Linked DNA regions of Homo sapiens: all the other regions are linked to region 1. The links are contacts of gene promoters, found by promoter capture Hi-C in human tissues and cell types (Jung and others, 2019). All regions are on one chromosome and are shown on one strand. Each heading gives the region's core, a stretch centred on a gene start or on the middle of the fragment in contact. The rest is flanking DNA. Distances are from core to core; before and after follow the strand shown.

Region 1 (4,225 bases), core at 1,185-3,684:
CCCACCCACCACACAGCTAGGAAACCAGTTCAGAGTGCCATCACAAGTACTTCGTAACTGAAAACAAGCATGGGAATTTAGTGACATAAATTGCATCTTTCTAAGCTGCACTTCCTGCCACTTTTTGTTTTTTTGAGGCGGGGTCTTGCTCTGTTGCCCAGGTTAGAGCGCAGTGCCGCGATCTCGGCTCACTGCAAGCTCCGCCTCCTGGGTTCACGCCATTCTCCTGCCTCAGCCTCCCGAGTAGCTGGGACTACAGGCGCCTGCCACCACGCCCGCCTAATTTTTTGTGTTTTTAGTAGAGACGGGGTTTCACCATGTTAGCCAGGATGGTCTCGATCTCCTGACCTCGTGATCCGCCAGCCTCGGCCTCCCAAAGTGCTGGGATTACAGGCGTGAGTCACCGCGCCAGGCCCTTCCTGCCACTTTTAAGGCCTCCACGGATCCCCTGGACCTTTAAGTCCCAGAGCCTTCGCCTGGCCCTAAGGCATCAGACAGCACTCTTCACCCCTCCACACCCCCCGCCCACTATGGCATCTGTCTGGTCCCTCCAGGAAGGAGAATGGGAACTGTGTTCTCTTTATTTCTGTGTCCCTGGGGCCCAGCACTGAGCTGCGCGCGGGTGGCCACCATGCCTGTTAAATGACTTCACTTTGATGAGGCAGGAACATATCCATGTCTCCCTCACCAGAACAACTCCCCCGCCCCCGGCTAAGTGCCTAGTGCGTGCCGATACACCGCAAGCACCCAGCAAACCCTGTTGTCCGGAATGCCATTCAGAGACAAGGGAGCTAGGCTCATGGGTTACGAGACTTGACCCAGTCATACTGCTGAGTTTTGCCCTCTGCTATGCTACGCCTTCCCCTCCGTCATACCGCAAAACCTTCTAAATTCGCATCCGTGCAGCAGAAAGGCAGACTGCAGATTCCAACAGCAAGTAACCAACCTCGAGAGACTGCTTCTCTGTGAAGCTCTAGTGTAAGTGGCACGCACTATTAACCTTAAAACGCTCCCGGAAACACAAGAAATCAGGGAAGCTTAACTATCTCCAGTGTGTCTGAAAGGTTTTCGGCAGGTAGGAAGAGGGGGTAAAAAAAACCTCTCCAAACTAAGAATGAAAAGAAGGAATACAATACCTGCAGAAAAGATCTGATGGGAAAGAAGGGAAAGAATGGTGAAATCTACCCAGGCTGCGGAAGACCAGGAGAGCCAGGCTGAGCCTTCGCTAGGACCCGGAAGACACCAAAGCACACCGCGCACGCTGCCGCCTCAGGACCGAAACCTCTCTCTGCAATTTCTGGTGCTGGGATACTTTTGCCCTGCCACTTCTCAAGATCGACAACTTCTCGAGCTCCTGCAGCCAGGATCAGACCACTAGCTTCTCTACAACCAGTCGAGCTCCACCCAGCATGTCCCAACTATCCCCTGTGGGCAAACTTTGCTCCCAAAAGGCTCTGATTCCAGAAGCAGGGAGCAGGCAGCTCGAGAAGATCGGCCCTACTGCAGGCCAAGCGCTAAATCCTAGTGGGGAAAGGACACGTTCCCTCCTGCACAGCCCCTCGGCCCCTCCAGGCCACCACAACAGACTGCCTAAAGGAGAACTGCCAATGTCACCAGCCCCAGGGCACATCAGGTTTCCAGCTTTATACGAACACTCAGCATCTGCCCCTCACCATCCTGTCCCAAGCCAGCACGCGCCGGGTACAGAGCTGGAGCCCGGCGAGGCTGACTCTCGCGCCGGCAGCACTCGGCCCCACCGCGCTGCACCGGGGACTAAAGGCCCGACCCCGCGCAGCCCGACGGCTTCCGGGACAGGCGCCCTGGGCCACGTGAGCCCAGCGGAGACCCTACACGGCCCCGCGGGCCTAGGGCAGGTCGGGAGAGAGGCGGCCCCCGCGGTCCGCCCGCGGCCCCAGACCCAGCTCCCCGGGTCCGACCTCACAACCCCACGCTGTAGCTCCGCCCCCCTAGCGCCGCCATTTTGTGGCGTCTTCGGAAGAGGAAGCCGGGAGTGCAAACCCCGGGGTCGCTGGGGGCCGGAAGGACTCCGCCGAAGGTGAGGGGCAAAAACGGCCCACACTGTCTAAGACGCCCCCACGAAGCCCACCGCGGCGTCTGCCCCAACCCCGAGTCCCGCCCGCCTCCTCGGGGCCTGGCGGCCAATCCGCACGCAGAGCCCCGGGAGCGACGGCGCCAAAGCCCAATGAGCGGCGCGCGCGCGCCCTGGCCGCCTCTCCGGAGGGCCCAGCTGGGGCAACCACGCTCGGGACGAAGGCCCGGCCGGCGGCAGTCTGCGCAGCGGCTGCGTCGCCCGCACAGAGCCTTCCCTCCCCGCTCCGCACCCAGCAGCCAACACAAACCTCCGTAGCCCTGGTCCATGTCTTCGACGCGGCCCACCAGCAGCCCCGTTTACTAGGCGACCACAGCACGCATGCGTTCAGCGCACCTCCGCCATCGACTACTGGAAGACCAGGCGCACACGTCACTACTTCCGCGCGCCCCCATTGGCTGGTCTTCACGAGGGCCCGCCCTCGCCGTCCCAGCTGGCCTTTCGGGCTGCTACGATCCAGCTCCGTGGCCTAATGGGAGTTGTGGTCCCACCGCGGTGCCCGACGGCCCGGCCCGCGCGCATGCGCACCCCGCCCCTCTGCCCACCCCGCCCCGCCCGCGCGGCACAGTAACAGAGAAACCCGGAGGTGGGATGGGAAAACTTTATTAGGTTTGGTTTCCAGCTTCGGCCACGCGGGCTCCGCCCGCCCCGAGCTCGGGTCACGGGGCGCCCCCGCCGCCCTCCTCGTCGTCCTCCACGTCGAGGCCCGGGATGCCGCGGATCTGGCGTTGCAGCGCCCCTCCCAGCAAGGGCACGGCGCCCTCCTCCTCCTCCTCTGGGGGCGGCGGCGGTGGCGGCGACACGGCCCCGGGGGCTGGCTCTGGGGGCACGGGAGGCTGCGCCGGCACGCCCTCTGCGCCCTCCGAGATCCCTGCCGCTTCGCCCTGCGCCCCCTCGTCCAGGGCACCGCCCTCAGCCTCCTCCTGCTCCTTCTCCTCCTCGGGGCTGTCGGTGAAAGGGTTCTCGCCCTGTGGGGAGGGGCGCGGACACTGAAGGGAGGGAGCACAGGCGGGGACTAAGCTGGGGACAGGGCAGGCCCGGACCAGTGCCTCACCTTCAGGTAGCGCTCCAGCTTCTTGCTGATGAGCTTGTTGTTGAGAATACTGCGGGCCACCATGAGGGAGGACTTCTTGGACTGCTCCATCATGAGCTGCGGGCAGGGCAGAAGGAGCTGGAGAGGCTGCTCTGAGTGCCCTACAAGTTGCTGCCCCGACCCTGCCAGCTTAGAGGGACCCCACCCCGCCCCTGCACCCACGCACTTCCAGCCCCACCAACGGAGGGCCACTCCACAAGCATGGAACCACAACCTATCTGATCTTTGTTCAAATTCCCTCTCCTTCCACACCACACTTACTGTAGGTAAATAAAAATACAGATCTATATATCTCTAACTTTACGGCTGTATTACAGAAATCTGATTTGCTTACAAAAAAGCTATAAGCAGTGAACAATTAAGAAACTAAGAGCCAAAGGTGGGTGCAACCTGTAACAAGGTGCCAACTAGGCTAATAGGCAAGGAGCACTTTGGGGCCAACGGGGAAGATATAAAAACAGGAACAGATATTTAATGAAACGTCTTTTTTAACCCACAGAATTCCAAGAATGAAGAATTATTCCCAGTCATGCAAGGGTGAAGAGAGTCTTCTCTGCTGGTGGGAGGATCAACTGTTTCCGTATTTTTTGGAAAGCAGTTTGACACAATGTATGAAAAGTAAAAATCTGTCTCATTAATCCCTTCCCAGAACGTATCCTAAATTTAAGAACTGGAAACATGCGTGCACACTGATTGTAGTGGTGAAAAATGGGAAAACACCTAAACGTTCCTCAGTGCAGAAGAGGTTAAATAAATCGTACATTCAAAAGAACATCATGCAGCCCTTCAAATCGGGCTCATCTCTGCACTGGCATAAGAAAGGTGTATAATATAGTACTGTCTGCAGAGCATGCCAGAGCCATTTTGTCTGGAAGGATTTCCATCAATATGCTGGGCCATCTCATGGTGGGAGTACAGGCAAATCTCACTTTGATCATTATAAAAACCATAAGGTAAAAGAAGGATATTTTTGGTGGGGTGGGAGAGCCCATTGAGTCCTTCCCACTCCATTTACATGTTTC
Region 2 (4,225 bases), core at 1,028-3,527, 750 kb after region 1:
TTTGGGAGGCCGAGGTGGGTAGATCTCTTGAGGTCAGGAGTTGGAGACCAGCCTGGCCACATGGTAAAATTCCATCTCTACTAAAAATACAAAAATTAGCTGGGCGTGGTGGCGGATGCCTGTAATCCCAGCTACTCAGGAGGGTGAGGCAGGAGAATCGCTTAAACCTGGGAGCCGGAGGTTGCGGTGAGCCGAGGTTGCACCACTGCACTCCAGTCTGGGCAGCAGAGCAAGTATCCGTCGCTTAACTACTTAATTAATTAATTAATTTTAAAAAACATTGAAAATCCAGCTCCTTGGGTCAAAGCAGCTATGTTTCTGATGCCCTAGAGCCTTGTGTAGCCAGTATCAGTCATATGGGACAGCACCACCATTGCAGCTGTGTCCTCATCTCTGTCAGCATGCTCATAGACCCTTGGGCCTCAAAATCCCAAGTTTGGGAAGCATTGGATGCCTAGAGACCCATGGTGAGGTTTGCCCAGACGGGGCCCTGGAAAATAGTCACTTGGAGCCCTGAGGGGTGTTTCCAGGAAAACCTGGAATAGGATGGCTGGCTCAGTGTTTTCCAGGTGCTTCTGCTTGATTCTAAGAGAGAGCTCTACCCACTGCCCCACTAACGTCCAGGTTCTCCCCTCAGCTCCCTGAAATAGGTATAATCCAGGAATTTGAGTCTTAGGCACATGTCACCAACTTAGTGGTGAAGGCAGGAATCCTGGGCTTTCAGAGGGTCCAGTCCCCGGATAAAGGGCCCCACGCCCCCTGTCCCTGACCATGTCACAGTCACAGGGTGTGCCCACCGTGGATGGGGCATGGCAGACATCATGGGCCACTGCAGCCTTGAGGTTCTTCGCCATGGTTGCGGCTGACTGTGAGGCCATTATTCATGTCCCTGAATTCCCAGGAGGATTTGGGGTTGCAGTGACTTTCTTGCCCCATCTGTGTCGTTTTTGTCCCACACTCTTGCACCCACATCTGTCTCACCATTACCACATGGCCCGTGTCCTTATTCTGCAAACTTGGATGGCCCCAGACAACTTGGCCAGCAGCAGAAGTCATCAGTGCCCTCAGGTGCCACAGATGCAGGGCTGGGCCTGGGGAGCAGGTAGCGAGGAGGAAGGAAGAAATCCAGGCCTGGCCATGAGCAGGCCACGTGCCTTGGAGCCCAGGATGCCCGGCAACAAAGGGGGACTTGTGATGGCACTGCAGGCTGGCCCGCTGTGGGCACTCCACAAGGACATCGAGAACCACACAGACCGTCAGAGGGTGGCCCCCACATGTGGGTTCTGGGGCTGAAAAAGGCCCAGGGATATTGCTGAGAGGATAGGTGTCATCAGTGCTTTTGGAGTTAGCCCCCCCCCGCCCCCCGTGCTTGAATCTTAAAGGTCACGTCTCTGTGCCTCAGTTTCCCCTTGCATCGCATGGGCATGTTTGCGCTTGTCCACAGCAGTAGCGAGGCTGTGGACCCAGGCTGAGGCGGGGCTGCCCCGAAGCTCTTCCAGGACCCACGAGCCGTCTCCCAGTTGCTCACGTCTAGGTTAGGGAACTGGAAGGGCCTTGGCACTCTCGGCTCCATCTTCACACAGCCGGTTCCCTCTGTGGTGGGGTCACTGGAAGTTGTGTGGATGTCGGGTCAGGACTTCCTGGGCTCAGTTGTGCCTGGTAGGTGGCTCAGGCAGAGCGTGGGGTGAGCAAGGGGTGAAGAGGAGGCCGATTGCAGGGGAGGGTCAGCGTGAGGGGAGTGCTGCTGGCAGTGGGCCTGTGGACCGGCTCCCACCGTCAGGCTGCACCACCCCGTGGGCCATGAGGGGAGCCAGCCGGGCTTGTCAGCGAGTGCGTGGCAGGGGCTGGCCTGTGAGGCAGAAGGGTCACCTCAGCGGCCCGGGGGGCAGGACAAGGCTGGTGCCAGAACCCAGCAGAAAGAAGGGCCACAGGGATGGAGAGGAGGGGGCTGGCTTCCGGGGCTCCACAGAGGTGGGGAGGGCGGCAGCTAATGGGCCTGGCTGTGCAGTGGGTGCTGGGCTCCCCACCACTGTTCTCTGGTGCCGCTGAGGCCTCCCTTCCAGAGCCTGCAGCCGATCAGGCACCTGTGTCTTCTCTCCCCGCGCAGGGCATCATGCTGGTCTACGACATCACCAACGAGAAGTCCTTCGACAACATCCGGAACTGGATTCGCAACATTGAGGAGGTGAGGCCCTCCGGCTCCTCCCACTGTCCCTGCTTCAGTCCTTGTCCCAGAGCCCTCTGGTTTACTCATGAGAAGGCCAAGGTGCAGAGACACATACAGGCCACTTGCCCACAGCCTCCTAGTCAGGGACATGGTGGGAGCAGGGACTGAGATGCAAGCAGCCGGCCCCAGGGACCACACACTGGCCTGGCCCCACCCCGGAGCCCCTCGGAGCCCATCCCTCCAGCTAGGCTGTTGGATCTGGCCAGTGTCATGGTTATAAGAGAAAGGATATCCAAGCTTGTGGTCACCATGAGTGTTGGGTGCTTTCTAGAGAAGGAAGGGTCTAGCACAGGTGTGACCCTTGTAGTTGGAGGGTGTGGTGAGCAGGCGTCAGTTGTACTTTGAGCTATATCGGAGCAGGGTGTGACCTGGTACAAACGACCTGTGTTCAGACCTTGAACCATAGAGCAGTGAGAAGTAGGCCAACCCCTCCTCCCCTCCCAAAGCCAGCATCTTCATCTTCTGCTCCCCAAAGAGCTGACCTCACCCCCAAAGCCTTCCTGGCTGCCGGCACCTGCAGCTTTCTATAACTAACCATGTGGGGCTTCAGGTCTGAGGCACAGCCAGAGAACTTTTCCCATCTATAAAACCACAGCAAAAGGGCATATCACTGTCCACCCAGGACTCATGGACCTCCCAGGCCAGGCCGAGAGGCCACCCCATCATTTGTGAGTCATTGCACTGGGCTCACCTCCCCAGTGACCCTGAGAGGGCTGTGCTGCCAAATTTGCCAGTGCAGGGCTGCACCCCAGCTGGGAAAGCTGTCTTCATCCGTGGAGAGGAGGAGAGCCTGGTCTTTGTGAAAGGTCTCTGTTTCTGGCCAGCGGGCAGGAGCCACCTTCTGGTTCATGGGAAGTGAGGCAGGGAGTGGCGCAGTAGGTTCCAGAGACCAAGTCTGAGCTGGTGGAAGAAGACAGCAGTTTCCAGTGTCCCCGTCCTCCAGGAAGCGTGGTCCGCTCCATGGGGACCCAGGGAGACTTGACGAAGGAGCTGCCTTTGGGTATGAGGGCAGAGTTTGGGCAACATCAGACAGGGTGGTGAAGTGCCTGCAGCTGGTGACGGCCTCGAGTTGCGACCACCTCAGGCACGGCCTGTTTCTGGAGCCCAAAAATAGTTGAAATGTCAGGGCCAGGCGAGGTGGCTTATGCCTGTAATCCCAGCAGTTTGGGAGGCTGAGGCGGGCAGATCACCTGAGGTCAGAAGTTTGAGACCAGCCTAGCCAACATGGCGAAACTCTGTCTCTACTAAAAATACAAAAAATTAGCCTGGTATGGTGGCAGATGCCTGTAATCTCAGCTATTCGGGAGGTTGAGGATCGCTTGAACCTGAAGGCAGAGGTTGCAGTGAGCCGAGATCATGCCACTACACTCCAGCCTGGGAGACAGAACGAGACTCCATCTCAAAAAAAAACAAAAAAAAAAGTGTCAAAGCAGAAGGTCCCAGGACAACAGCTGGGGCCTCTTGCAGAGGAGCCAGGGAGGGAAGGAGGAAAGCCAAGGTCGGGGGGTAAATATCTCAGCCTCACTCACCTCCCATAGGCTAGACCCGCCCAGCATCCCAGGTGCGGGGGCTTGATTGATACAGCCATAGAAGCTGCCAGAAAGCATTTCAGAAAATGTGCATTTGCTCAGAGTAGCAGCTAGAACCCTGGCCCCAGCCCTGGCATTGGCTGTGTGACATGGGGCCGGCTGCTTGGCCTCTCTGAGCTTCAGCTTGTCCCTTAGACCAGGCTGTACCTAGCAGTCCTGACCCCACCGCTCTGATTTCTGGGGACAGACTGTGTGTTGGCAGAGGCACCTGGCCTGTGTCATCCGGTCTGATCCCCCGTCTGTCCCCCTCCCTCTCAGCACGCCTCTGCAGACGTCGAAAAGATGATACTCGGGAACAAGTGTGATGTGAATGACAAGAGACAAGTTTCCAAGGAACGGGGAGAAAAGGTGGGCATGGTGGCACAAGGGGCAGAGGGCCTCGGGGTCTTGGGGTTCTTGTGCAGAGGCC
Region 3 (4,225 bases), core at 868-3,367, 700 kb after region 1:
CGCTCTCTAGCTAGCTTGCAGACAGCCACCTTCTTGCTGTGTCCTCACATTGGAAGAGGATAACCAAGTTCTGGCCTCTTCTCATAAGGGCCTTAATCCCATCATGGTGGGTCAACCCTCATGACCTCACCCAAACCTCATCATCTTCCAAAGGCCCCATCACCAATTACCATCACATGGAGATGAGGGCTTCAACACATGAATTGGAGAGGGGGCAAAAGCAAGCATTCAGTTCATTATAGGCTTATATTCCAGAAGACCTGGGCTCAAACCCTGTGCTGTGTGACCTGGGGAAAGTCATCCCACCTCTCTGAGCCTCCTGCTGTGGGGAGGAAGCAGGAGAATGAAGCTGGGCTCAGTGGGGGCTGTCTGCCCACCCTGGGAGCAGGAACAAGATCAGTGTCAAACCATCTAAGGCAAAAGTCAGATCCAAGCCAGGTGTGGCGACTCACGCCTGCAATCCCAGCAATTTGGGAGGCCGAGGCGGGCAGATCACTTGAGGTCAGGAGTTTGAGACCTGCCTGGCCAATATTGCAAAACCCTGTCTCTACTGAAAATACAAAAATTAGTCAGTCGTGGTGGTGTGCACCTGTAGTACCAGCTACCGGGGAGGTTGAGGCAGGAGAATCACTTGAACCCAGGAGGCGGAGGTTGCAGTGAGCTGAGATCGTGCCACTGCACTCCAGCCTTGGTGACAGAGCGAGACTCTCAAAAAAAAAAGTCAGATCCAGGCATGAGCTGGATATGATCACCCTAATCCAGAGTTGGGGGCCCAGGGAGGGAGTTTCAGCCTGGAGGTGACAGAAAAGTCTTCTTGAGCCAACTCTAGACCGGTGTGGTGGGGGGTGACAAAGAGAGGTGATGGGGTCTGTGGTTTGTAATCCATAGGCCTGAGCTTCTCAAACTAGGAGTGATGGGAGGATAGGACTCTTGGGATAAACAGAGGACTGAAAATTTAGGGAAAGTAGGGGACATTTTTATTAAAATGAACATGGCCTATATGCAAAAATTTTAAAGATTTAACCCGAGCCTTCAAAGAAAGTGATCCTGTAGGGGCGAGTCTCTTCTAGCCAAGCTCCCCAAAGCCCAGAAATGAGGGACTAGGTCTGAGCCCTTCAGCCCTTCAGAGTATTTTGGTAAGACAGTCTAAGAACCACTGCCTTGGGCCATAGGGAGCCATAGCAGGTTCTAGGCAGAAAGAGGGCAGGCGTATTTGTTAGAAAGTTTCTCTGACCCCGTGTTGGGGTCAGAACCAGAGGGAGAAAGGCTGGGGACAGGGATGGGCGGAGGGATCCACGCGCAGAGAATGAGATTGCTTAACTCCAGATCATGGTGAGGCTGCACCTCTGAAACTGGAATGTGTGTATTTCTGGAAAACATTTGGAGTCTTCAGTTTCCCAAAAGCTGCCATTGATCTCCCTAGAGTACTGGGGACCCCAATAAGCCCAAAACAGCTGGTCCTCAGGACGAGGGAAAGATGTGAAAATCCCACTATCAGGTAGCATGGATGGCGTGGTGCATGCTATCGCAACCCCTGTTCTACAGATAAGGAAACTGATGCCCAGAGAGAGACGGAGGACTCTTGTGAATATTGGGGGGGACCGCCCCTGCACCTCGGGGACGTGACCCCCCCCCCAGGCTGACCCGTTCCTCGCTCTGTCGTCCCCAGGTGGAGGAGGAGCTGACGCACCTCCAGAAGAAACTAAAAGGGACAGAGGACGAGCTGGATAAATATTCCGAGGACCTGAAGGACGCGCAGGAGAAGCTGGAGCTCACGGAGAAGAAGGCCTCCGACGTACGTGTGCAGGGATGCGGGAGCCCGCGGCGGGGCCAGGCCGGAGCCCCGGGGCCGGGAAGGCGGGGAGAGCCGCAGGGGGAGGAGGAAGAGGAGGAGGAGAAGGCGGCGCCTCCCAGCGCTTTCTCCAAATAAGTCCCGAAAAGGGGCACTTTCCAGCAGCTGTGGCCAGCGGTGCCGACGTCAGGCCCTCCCCCAGCGGTGCTGACGTCGGCGGTCCGGCCGGGTGACCTCATCGCCCCGACGGCAGCCGGCCCGGGGGGCGGGGAGAGGCGGGGGCGGCCCCCGCGCAGGCAAAGGCTTGGGGGGCCGGGGCGCGGCTGTGCAGCTCTCGCCGGAGCCGAGCCCAGCCGAGCGTCCGCCGCTGCCCGTGCGCCTCTGCGCCTCCGCGCCATGGCCGGCCTCAACTCCCTGGAGGCGGTGAAACGCAAGATCCAGGCCCTGCAGCAGCAGGCGGACGAGGCGGAAGACCGCGCGCAGGGCCTGCAGCGGGAGCTGGACGGCGAGCGCGAGCGGCGCGAGAAAGTGAGCGCCCCGGCCTCGGGCCCCGCACCCGCAGCCTCCTCCCCCGCGCGCCCTCCTTTCTTCCCGGCTTCCCGCGCTGCCCGCCCGCGCGCAGTCCTCGGGCCGCCTTTTTACGCCCTCGGACGCCGATCGCCGACCCACATCCCTGCGCCCGCAGCCAGGACCCCCTACTTCCTCCGCCGTCCTCCTTCCTGGGCCTGGGACAGGGGAGGGGGCGCCGCCTCCGGGTCGGGCGGGGCCGGCCAAGCGGGAAATGGGGGGATGGGGCGGAGGGGGTGAGCGATCTCCGGGTGGAGAAGTGGAGCGGCGGGAGGGGGCGTATCGTGCAGGCTCCGACTCCGGGGCTGGCGCCGGGGTCCCGGGCCGAGGGGAACCCGCGACCGGACTTGTGGGGGAGAATGAGGATGAAAACGTGGAGCTTCCATTGTCTAGGGTTTGACCGGCCGACAGGGATTTCGACGGGGGACCGGGGATCTGGGGAGGGGGTCGCACTTTCTCGCCTCTTTCGCGGCTTCCCGGCTTCTGCTTGCTTCCCTGACCGTTCCCAGGGGCGCGGCGGCGACGTGTCTGCTCCAGGCGGCGGGGGGGATGGGGGGTGGAGGAAGTTCAGCCCCAAGCCGCCCGCCTTTCTCCAGCTGATTCCTGCGGGAACCGGGGCGGCGGGACCCTGCCTCTCTCCAGAAGGCCCCGGGAACGCTGGCGCGGGGCCCTGAACCCACGATCGTTTGAGCGCCTGCTGTGCGCCTCCGCCGCGAGTCGCAGGGCCCGAGATAAACAATGGGTCTGAAAAAGGAGGGAGTTTCACCATCCTCTCTGCATCATCCTCCTGGCTGTCCCTCGGGACAGATGGTGGCACCGCCAGGGTCTGGGGACAGATTTGGATTCTGGTCCCATATCATGCCACCCACAGGCTTCATGACTTGGTATTTGCTCTCTAGGAGCTTTTTTCCCATCTGCGAGTAGGACTGATAAGAATCCCGACCCCCCAGAGTAGCAGGGAGGGTCCCAGGAGTAAATCTCAGGCGTGGAGCCTGGCGCTTTGTAAATAATCAATTGTGTTGTTGTTTTTTGTTGTTTTGTTTTTGAGGCAGTCTCACTCTGTCGCCCAGGCTGGAGTGCAGTGGTGCGATCTCGGCTCGCTGCAACCTCCACCCCCCGAGTTCAAGAGATTCTCCTGCTTCAGCCTCCCGAGTAGCTGGGATTACAGGTGCCCGCCACCACGCCCAGCTAATTTTTTTTTTTTTATTTTGGATTTTTAGTAGAGACAGTGTCTCACCATGCTGGCCAGGCTGGTCTCGAACTCCTGACCTCGTGATCTGCCCACCTTGGCCTCCCAAAGTTCTGGGATTACAAGCGTGAGCCACGGCGCCCAGCCTCAATTGTGTTTTCTCTGCCCTGGGAAGAGCTCATAGACAAATGGAGGCAGGGGAGCTGACTCACTGATGGAGCGAGGTCTGCATTCCACGGGTTTTCTGTGCAGTTATGGGAGCATGACAGGGGAGGCTCCAAAATGGAGGTTGAGCTGGGTCTTATAGAATAAATAAGTTTGCTGGGACCAGAGACATGGGTGTGCACAGACTCAGAGGCAAGAAAGTTGTATGATGAGGGTGGGGGGGTGTGCGGATAGAGGTTGAAGCCCAAAAGCCCTGAAAGTTCAGTGTTGAGGCTCAGGGTGGGGACCCTAGAGAGGCAAAAGATGCCCAGCCAGATGGAATTGGTGGTGTGAATTGCCAGGACTGGAAAGAGCCCAGATGGGGGCTGCAGCATGGGCCTTGGTTGAAGCCTCTAATCCTGTAAGGGCTGCTTTGGCCCAAGAGGCCTTAGAAACCCGGTGTAAGCCTCAATCGGTAGCCGGTCTGGCCTCTTTCTCACACTTAACCGACACAGCTCTTGCTCTGATCTCAT

What was found. The method cuts DNA at HindIII sites, captures the fragments that hold promoters and counts their contacts. A contact is called where the count stands out against the background at its distance.
Region 2: a contact is called between a fragment that was not itself captured here and the fragment with the promoter of AKAP8 in region 1, in 1 of the 25 tissues and cell types used here (dorsolateral prefrontal cortex).
Region 3: a contact is called between the fragment with the promoter of TPM4 here and the fragment with the promoter of AKAP8 in region 1, in 1 of the 25 tissues and cell types used here (dorsolateral prefrontal cortex).

Annotation. Positions count from the first base shown.
Region 1 is chr19:15,377,353-15,381,577 of GRCh38, forward strand. AKAP8 (A-kinase anchoring protein 8) reads right to left here and starts at 2,435. Exons shown (of 14, transcript NM_005858.4): 1 at 2,361-2,435. The coding sequence starts at 2,379. AKAP8L (A-kinase anchoring protein 8 like) reads right to left here. Exons shown (of 14, transcript NM_014371.4): 13 at 3,165-3,260; 14 at 2,698-3,078. The coding sequence ends at 2,770. RefSeq lists enhancers at 1,576-2,491, 2,426-2,720, 2,492-3,406 and silencers at 1,681-2,230, 2,571-3,060. The HindIII fragment of the contact is 19,214 bases long and covers 1-4,225 here.
Region 2 is chr19:16,123,363-16,127,587 of GRCh38, forward strand. RAB8A (RAB8A, member RAS oncogene family) reads left to right here. Exons shown (of 8, transcript NM_005370.5): 4 at 2,108-2,185; 5 at 4,075-4,164. HSH2D-AS1 (HSH2D and RAB8A antisense RNA 1) reads right to left here. Exons shown (of 2, transcript NR_199156.1): 2 at 1-3,625. Among named protein-coding and RNA genes, the nearest start is that of RAB8A, 14 kb to the left of the region's middle. The HindIII fragment of the contact is 7,709 bases long and covers 1-4,225 here.
Region 3 is chr19:16,074,378-16,078,602 of GRCh38, forward strand. TPM4 (tropomyosin 4) reads left to right here and starts at 2,118. Exons shown (of 8, transcript NM_003290.3): 1 at 2,118-2,320. The coding sequence starts at 2,189. RefSeq lists enhancers at 1,002-1,731, 1,732-2,459, 2,460-3,189, 4,108-4,225 and a silencer at 1,768-2,677. The HindIII fragment of the contact is 17,695 bases long and covers 1-4,225 here.